Linked DNA regions of Homo sapiens: region 1 is linked to region 2. The links are contacts of gene promoters, found by promoter capture Hi-C in blood cells and fetal thymus (Javierre and others, 2016). All regions are on one chromosome and are shown on one strand. The core of a region is centred on a gene start or on the middle of the fragment in contact, and the rest is flanking DNA. Distances in the headings are between cores, read along the strand shown. Region 1 has its middle 10 kb from the start of DEFA5. Region 2 holds the start of DEFA6 (defensin alpha 6).

The links. The method cuts DNA at HindIII sites, captures the fragments that hold promoters and counts their contacts. A CHiCAGO score of 5 or more calls a contact.
Region 1: a contact is called between a fragment that was not itself captured here and the fragment with the promoter of DEFA6 in region 2, in 1 of 17 cell types (neutrophils). The highest score is 5.4, in neutrophils.

The regions. Positions count from the first base shown.
Region 1 is chr8:7,065,058-7,068,883 of GRCh38, forward strand. No RefSeq gene overlaps it. Among named protein-coding and RNA genes, the nearest start is that of DEFA5, 10 kb to the left of the region's middle. The HindIII fragment of the contact is 7,713 bases long and covers 1-3,826 here.
Region 2 is chr8:6,924,003-6,927,458 of GRCh38, forward strand. DEFA6 (defensin alpha 6) reads right to left here and starts at 2,074. Exons shown (of 2, transcript NM_001926.4): 1 at 1,841-2,074; 2 at 695-925. The coding sequence starts at 2,033. The coding sequence ends at 816. RefSeq lists an enhancer at 1-419. The HindIII fragment of the contact is 287 bases long and covers 1,935-2,221 here.

The sequences.
Region 1 (3,826 bases), core at 177-2,676, 140 kb after region 2:
CCAACTAGATCACAGACCGGTGTACATCCTCTTCACTATTTGTAGTAATAGCATCCTCTTCCCCCTGGATATTAAGAACAGTATCACAGGAGTCTTTCTACCCCCAGCGGCATTGGGTGTAGTATCGTCCTCTCCCACGTTGAAATTATGAACTATATCACTGGGGGTGTGTCCACCCCATGCGATATTGATAGTAGCATCATCCTCTTCTCTCCTGGATCAGGGGAGCAATGTCACTGGGGTGGTGTACACTTTCTGCGGTATCGGCAGTAAGATCATCCTCTCCGCCTTGGAATATGAAGGACCATATCACAGGGGGGCTGTACACACCCTGCGCTATGAAGACGAATATTATCCTCTCCCACCCTGCACATGAGAAAAAATATCACAGGGTGGGTGTACACCTTCTGCGATATGGGGGGGAAATATCTTCTCTTCTTCTGGATAGTAGGAACAATATCACACGGGTTTGTACACTTTCTGTGATATTGGGAGTAATATCAACTTCTCCGCCTTTGAATATTAAGAACAGTGTCACAGACTGGATGTACACCCCCTGCGATATTGGGAGTAAAATCAGCCTCTCCTCTCCATGGATATTAGGAATAATATCCCAGAATGGGTGTACACCTCCTGCTGTATGGGAAGTCATATCTTCCTCTCCCTTCCTGGCTACTAGGAACCATATCAGAGGGTGGGTGTACACAGCCTGCGATATTGCGAGTAATATCACCCTCTACCCCTCCGGATATTAGGAACAATATCACAGAAGGGGTGTACACTTTCTGCGATACTGGGAGTCATAGCATTGTCTTCTTCCGTGAATATTAGGAGCAATTTCACCGGGTGGATGTACACCCACTGCTCTATTGGGAGTGACGTCATACTCCACCCCCTGGAGATTATATTCGGATCAATATCACTGGGTGGGTGTACACCTACTGCAATATTGAACATAATATCATGCTCTCTCCCTCCCTGGACATTAGGAGCAATATCACAGGTAGGTGTACACCCACTGAGGTATTAGGCGTAATATTCATATTCATTATTCCTCATTTATTAGTCACATGAATATGAATTACCAATATTAATATTAATAACAAATTGCTGATAAAAAGTGTTCAAAATATTAATATTAATTATTAGGAGCTAATATTACTGTTTTCTAATGTATAAGATCAATATCAGTTATTAATATCAGGCATTATTAATCATTAATATTAATCATTTATTGTTATCATTCGTATAACTATTTAATATTAATTATCATTATTATTGGTATTGATGTTAAAAATTATATTTTCAGTTATTAATGTCGATAATTATTAGTATCAATTAATAATGGATGTTATTAATTGCGATAAGTAATATTGATATTAAAATCGATATTATTGATTATCAATTATTAATTGCGATAAGTAATATTGATGTTGAAATGGATATTATTTATTATTAATTATTAATTGCGATAATAATATTAATTGCGATAAGTAATATTGATATTGAAATTGATATTATTAATTGTGACAAGTAATATCGATATTAAAATGGATATTAGTGATTATTAATTATTAATTGCGATAATGATATTAATTGCGATAATGATATTAATTGCGATAAGTAATATTCATATTAAAATTGATAGTATTAATTGCTATAAGTAATATTGATATTAAAATTGATATTATTAATTGCGATAAGTAATTTTGCCCCATTCCACATAATATCTGTGATCTTGTTGCTAATACCCAGGCGGGGAGAGGACGTTATTAATCCCAATAATCCGGAAGGTGTAGACCTCCCCTGTGATATTGTCCCTAATATCCAAAGGTGGAGAGGAAGATATACCTCCCAATTTCGCAGGGGTTGTACACCACCCCTGTGACATTGTTCCTAATGTCCAGGGGTAGAGAAAATGACATGACTCACAATAAGGCAGGGGGTGAACACCCCGTCCATGATATTGTTCCTAATATTCAGGGGGGAAGAGTATGATGTTACTCCCAATATCACAGGCGGTGTACTCCCCATATCCCAGGTTGTGGATAGTATCCCGATCTGTGATAGACTCCGCCACGATGTGGGGAGTAATGTCATCCCCCTCTCCTTCCCTCGGTATTACGATACACATCGCAGGGGGGCGGGCGACCCCTACGATGCGGGGAGAAAAATCACCCCCCACCCCTGATATTACGAGCCACATCGCAGGGGGGTGGACACCCCCAGTGATGCGGGGAGTAATATCTATCCCCCTTCCCCATGGATATTAGGAGCCACATCACAGGGGCGTGGACACCCTCCGCTGATGCGCAGAGTAATATCAACCCCCATCCCTCCCTGCATGTTAGCAGTCACTGAGGACACACAGTGTATTTACCATATTTCCAGTAAGATCATCTTTTCAATTGAACCTTATGAACAAGATCACAGAGGGGTGTACACTTCCTGCGATACTGGGGGTAATAGCGTTCTCTCCTCCACTGCATACTGGGAACAATATCACAGGGGTGTGTATTCCTCCTTCCATATTGAGAGTCATATCATACTTGCCTTCCATATATTAAGAACAATAGCAAAGAGGGGAGTGGACACTGTGACGATATTAGGAGTAACATCATTCTCTCTACCCCTGGATATTAGTAGCAATATCACAGGGGGATGTACATTTCTTGTGATATTGAGAGTAGTAGTATTGTCTTCCCCGGTGGATATGAAAAACAATACCACAAGGGGCGTCAAACCACCTGCCAAATTTGAGGGCATGTTATCCTCTCCGCCCCCGGATATTAGAGACAATAACACAGGGGTAATGTACACCCACTGCTTGATCGGGAGAAGGATCATCCTCTCCCTTCTTGGATATTAGGAACAATATCACGGGGGTGGGGGGGGGGTGTACTGCCTCTGCGATATTGGGAGTAAAACTCTCCTGTCTTCCCCTGGATATTAGGAAGTGTATCAGAGGGGGAGGGTGCACATTCCCTGCGATATTCAATGTAATCTTATGCTCTCCCTCCCAGGGTATGAAGAACAATATTACAGGAGGGGTGTACACCCTCTGCGATATTGGGAGTCATATCATCCTCTTTCGCTCTGGATATTAGGAAGAATATCACAGGGCTGTGTACACCCCCTGTGATATTGGGAGTCATATCATCCTGTGGCCCTGAGGAGAGAAACAATTTCTCTACTGTCTCCTGTCTCTGAAGAGGAGGAGGAAGTAAAAGTGGGAAAACAACAGGAATGAAGTCAGTGGCAAGACCAGCCGGTGGCACTGATGAGCCGGTCTGCGGTGAAAAGATTAACCCCCCCTTAGATTAACCCTAAGCACATGTGCTCTGAATCCATCACGGCCCTTTCACGTGGAACCCCTTGGAGTTGTAAGCCCTTAAACGGGCCAGGAACTCTGTCTTCCTTGGAGGAGCTGGGTTCTTAAGACAAGAGTCTGTCGATACTCTCGGCCGAGTAAAAAAACCTCTTGCTTCTTGAATCTGCTGTCTGAGGGACTTCGTCCACGGCTCATCCTACTTCATTTCTTAGTGCCCTGATTGGGAATCAAACGGGGGCAGCAGCGGTAAAAGCACCGAATCCCAACCACTAGACCACCAGGGGAACTTTGAACCTTGGGGAAAATAGATTGCCCACCATTAGAAGTGGGTCGGCCATCAGAAGGAAGCCTGGACAGGTCCCTTGCTTCTAAGGTGTGGCACAAGGTAACTGGTAAAGGACACCTAGACCAGTTCGTATAGACACTTGGTGACAGCTGGTGCTAGACTCCCCACAGTGGCTAAGAGGGCAGGCAGCGGAAATACTAGTAGCAAAG
Region 2 (3,456 bases), core at 824-3,323:
CCTTCCTCCTATGTTTGTATCCCATTCAAACCAAGATTAAAATTCTAAGCCCTCCAGCCAACTGAATGGACGCCTCCTCTCAGCCCAAGGCATTCTAGTGTTAACCTCAAACACTGGTTCAGGCCATGATGGGACGTGGGGATCAGGAATACCTCATGATATCCTCCTCCCATTGGAATTCAGGCACAGCTGGCCAGCATTAACATTAAAACAGAGTGCCTAAGGCCACGTGCGGTGGCTCATGCCTGTAATCCCAGCACTTTGGGAGGCCGAGGTGGGCGGATCACTTGAGGTCAGGAGTTCGAGACCAGCCTGGTCAACATAGTGAAACCCTGTCTCTACTAAAAATACAAAAATTACTTGGCGTGGTGGTGGATACCTGTAATCCCAGCTACTTGGGAGGCTGAGGCAGGAGAATCACTTGAACCCAGGAGGTAGAGGTTTCAGTGAGCCAAGATTGTGCCACTGCACTGCAGCCTGGGCAACAGAGCGAGACTCCATCTCAGAAAGCAAAAAACAAAAAAACAAAAAACCCAAATCCTCTCTTCTCTCAACATCCTCTCTACCACTTCTCTGGTCTACATAGAAAACTCTTTCGAAGAGCTAGTGTTCTGAGATACGACTTGGGTTTTTGTTTTTGCATCTGAAGAATCCTGAATTATCAAACACCAGAAAAGCACAAACACAAAAGAACTTGCTGAAAGGACTTTATTTGAGATGAGGAAACAAAGTTGATGGCAATGTATAGGACACACGACAGTTTCCTTCTAGGTCATAAAGTAAATTATGAATATATTTCTCTCTGTTCTCATCCCTCAGAGGCAGCAGAATCTGTGGTTAATACCCATGACAGTGCAGGTCCCATAGGAATATTCTGTTGAATAACAGGACCTTCTGCAATGGCAAGTGAAAGCCCTTGTTGAGCCTGGGGACAGAGAGAGAGAGCATCAGAAATTGAGCACCAGGGTCAGCAGCGGGCAGTAAAGAGAATCTTCAGGAAGTTGCATGCTTGCTGACATGTAATGCTGGCTGCATTACAGCCAATAGCATGATCACACCATCAATAGGAATAAATACGCAGAGCAGTGTTGGTCACACACAGGATTAGAGAGCCATTCTGATATGCTGTACTTATCTGCTCCTTCCCTGTCACACACACATCTGAATGCACCCATATGACTGTCTCCAGTTTGCAACGGTTCCTATAAAAGTCAGATTAAAAAACATTCCTTTAGCAGCTGGATGTGGTGGCTTACGCCTGTAATCCCAGCACTTTGGGAGGCCAAGGTGGGTTTATCACAAGGTCAGGAGTTCAAGACTAGCCTGGCCAAGATGGTGAAACCCCGTCTCTACTGAAAAAAAAAAAAATACAAAATTTAGCCAGGCTTGGTGTCTGGTGCCTGTAATCCTAGTGACTTGGGAGGCTGAGGGAGAGAATTGCGTGAACCCAGGAGGCAGAGGTTGCAGTGATCTGAGATAGTGCCACTGCACTCCAGCCTGGGTGACAGAGCGAGACTCCATCAAACAAAACAAAACAAAACAAAGCAAAACAAAACATTCCTTTAAAATTAGGCTCTCTTCCTTGAAGTAGAGACTCCTCAATACATTTCTACATGGCAAAAAATTAGAAAATTTCATAGACTTATCATAGAATTAAAAAATCTTTAGAGAAAAGTCATGCCTTGAATATCACTGATTCTTCCTTTTCAGTACAAACATAAAGTAATTGAGGCCTGGGGAGGTGATCACCTAAGAGAAAGAGCCAGCTGTTGGATCTAATTCTAGAAGTGCTTGGTTTTCCTCTCTACACTCCTAGCTCTGCAATGCTGGTGTCTCTTACCCAAAGCTCTAAGACTTGAGCTTGCATCCTCTGCAAAGGAGACGGCAAAGTCCTGGTCATTTGCCCCACGCTGCTCCTGGGCATCAGCCTCATAAGCTTTTGCCTGCAGTGGATCATCCTCAGCTTGGAGTGGCTCAGCCTTGGCCTGGAGGGCCACGAGGAGAACAGCAGTGAGGATGGTGAGGGTTCTCATGGCTAGGGTCGCTGGAGGAGAGAGAGCAGGAGCAGATGTGTGGGGAGTGAGGAGCCAGCCTGGATTTATAGGTCTGCTGGGAGAAGGCTCAGGGACAGATGTTGCGGTGAGACGGGGAGTGCATGTGATTGGGGAGCAGAAGAGCTACCCTTGCCCTCCATGTCCCTTTGATGCTCCTTTGTTCTCCAAGCTTCATTGTAGTGTGAGGCTGTTTATTGAGTGTCTGTTCTGGTCCCAGCTGATAGTGATGATAAGAACAGTGTTACATTGTCCTGTTTTCCATCTGCTGGAATATTTACTTGTTAATATTCAAAAAAGAAAAGAACAGTGCTTTCAATGAATAATTTCAGGAATCAAATGCCTCTTATTTTCTGAAGGTGGGGCTGGCCACTCTCTGGAGGTCTAGACCTTGAGGCCAGAGCTGGATCCCGCTAGAGTAGAGAGTTAATTCATTGCAGGATTCAGGGGGCATTTCTGCCCTCATGAAGGAGGCTTTGAGATTATGGGGTGAATAGGCTCTTGTGGGGCACAGTGTGGAGAAGATAATGACCTTATCAGCCTATAAGGGAAAAGAACTCAGTGGGATACTAGGTAAAGAGTTAGTAAAACTAAAGCCAAAAGATTTATTTCAAGAAACCCATGTGATCTGAATGTATCAACTAAAATATGTACTAGGTATTTCTCTCCACTTTGAGAAACATCGAAACAATTGACATGCCCACAATCCCCCTCTGAAATTTTATTTTATTTTTAATTTTAGAAAATGTTGAATTGCCCACAAGGACCATTCAAAGGGTAAAAGGAGTAATGAGCCTCCATCCTTGCCCCAGCCCTGCAGCTCTGCTCCAGGAAATCTCCACTTAAAAATTAAACATTGGTTTGTGCTTTGTTTTTTCTCCCTAATGCTGTAATTTGAATACTTTGTAGCTCAAAACATATAGAACTCTACCATTATTTTCATAGTCTCTTGTTTCTGGTCTTCTATTCAGGTATTTTATCCATTTTGAGTTAAGTTTTGTATATGCCAAAAGAGAAGGGTCCAGTTTTATTGTTTTGCATATGGAAATAGTATTCCCACCACCATTTATTGAAGAGACTCTCCTGTCCCTATTGTGTCTTCTTCATGCCATTGTCAAAAGTTACTTGACCATATGTGTTTCGATGTGTTTCTGGACTCTCAATTTTATTTCACTGGTATGTGTCTGGTTTTATGCCAATACCATATTGTTTTGATTACCGTAGCTTTGTAATATAATTTAAAACCAGGAATTGTGATGTCTTCAACTTTGTTTTTTTTTCTCAGAATTGTTTTGTCTATTTGGGTTCTTTCACCATTTCATACAAATTTTAGGATTTTTTTTTTTATTTCTGTAAAGAATGCCATGGGGATTTTGATAGGAATTGTGCTGAATCGGTATATTGT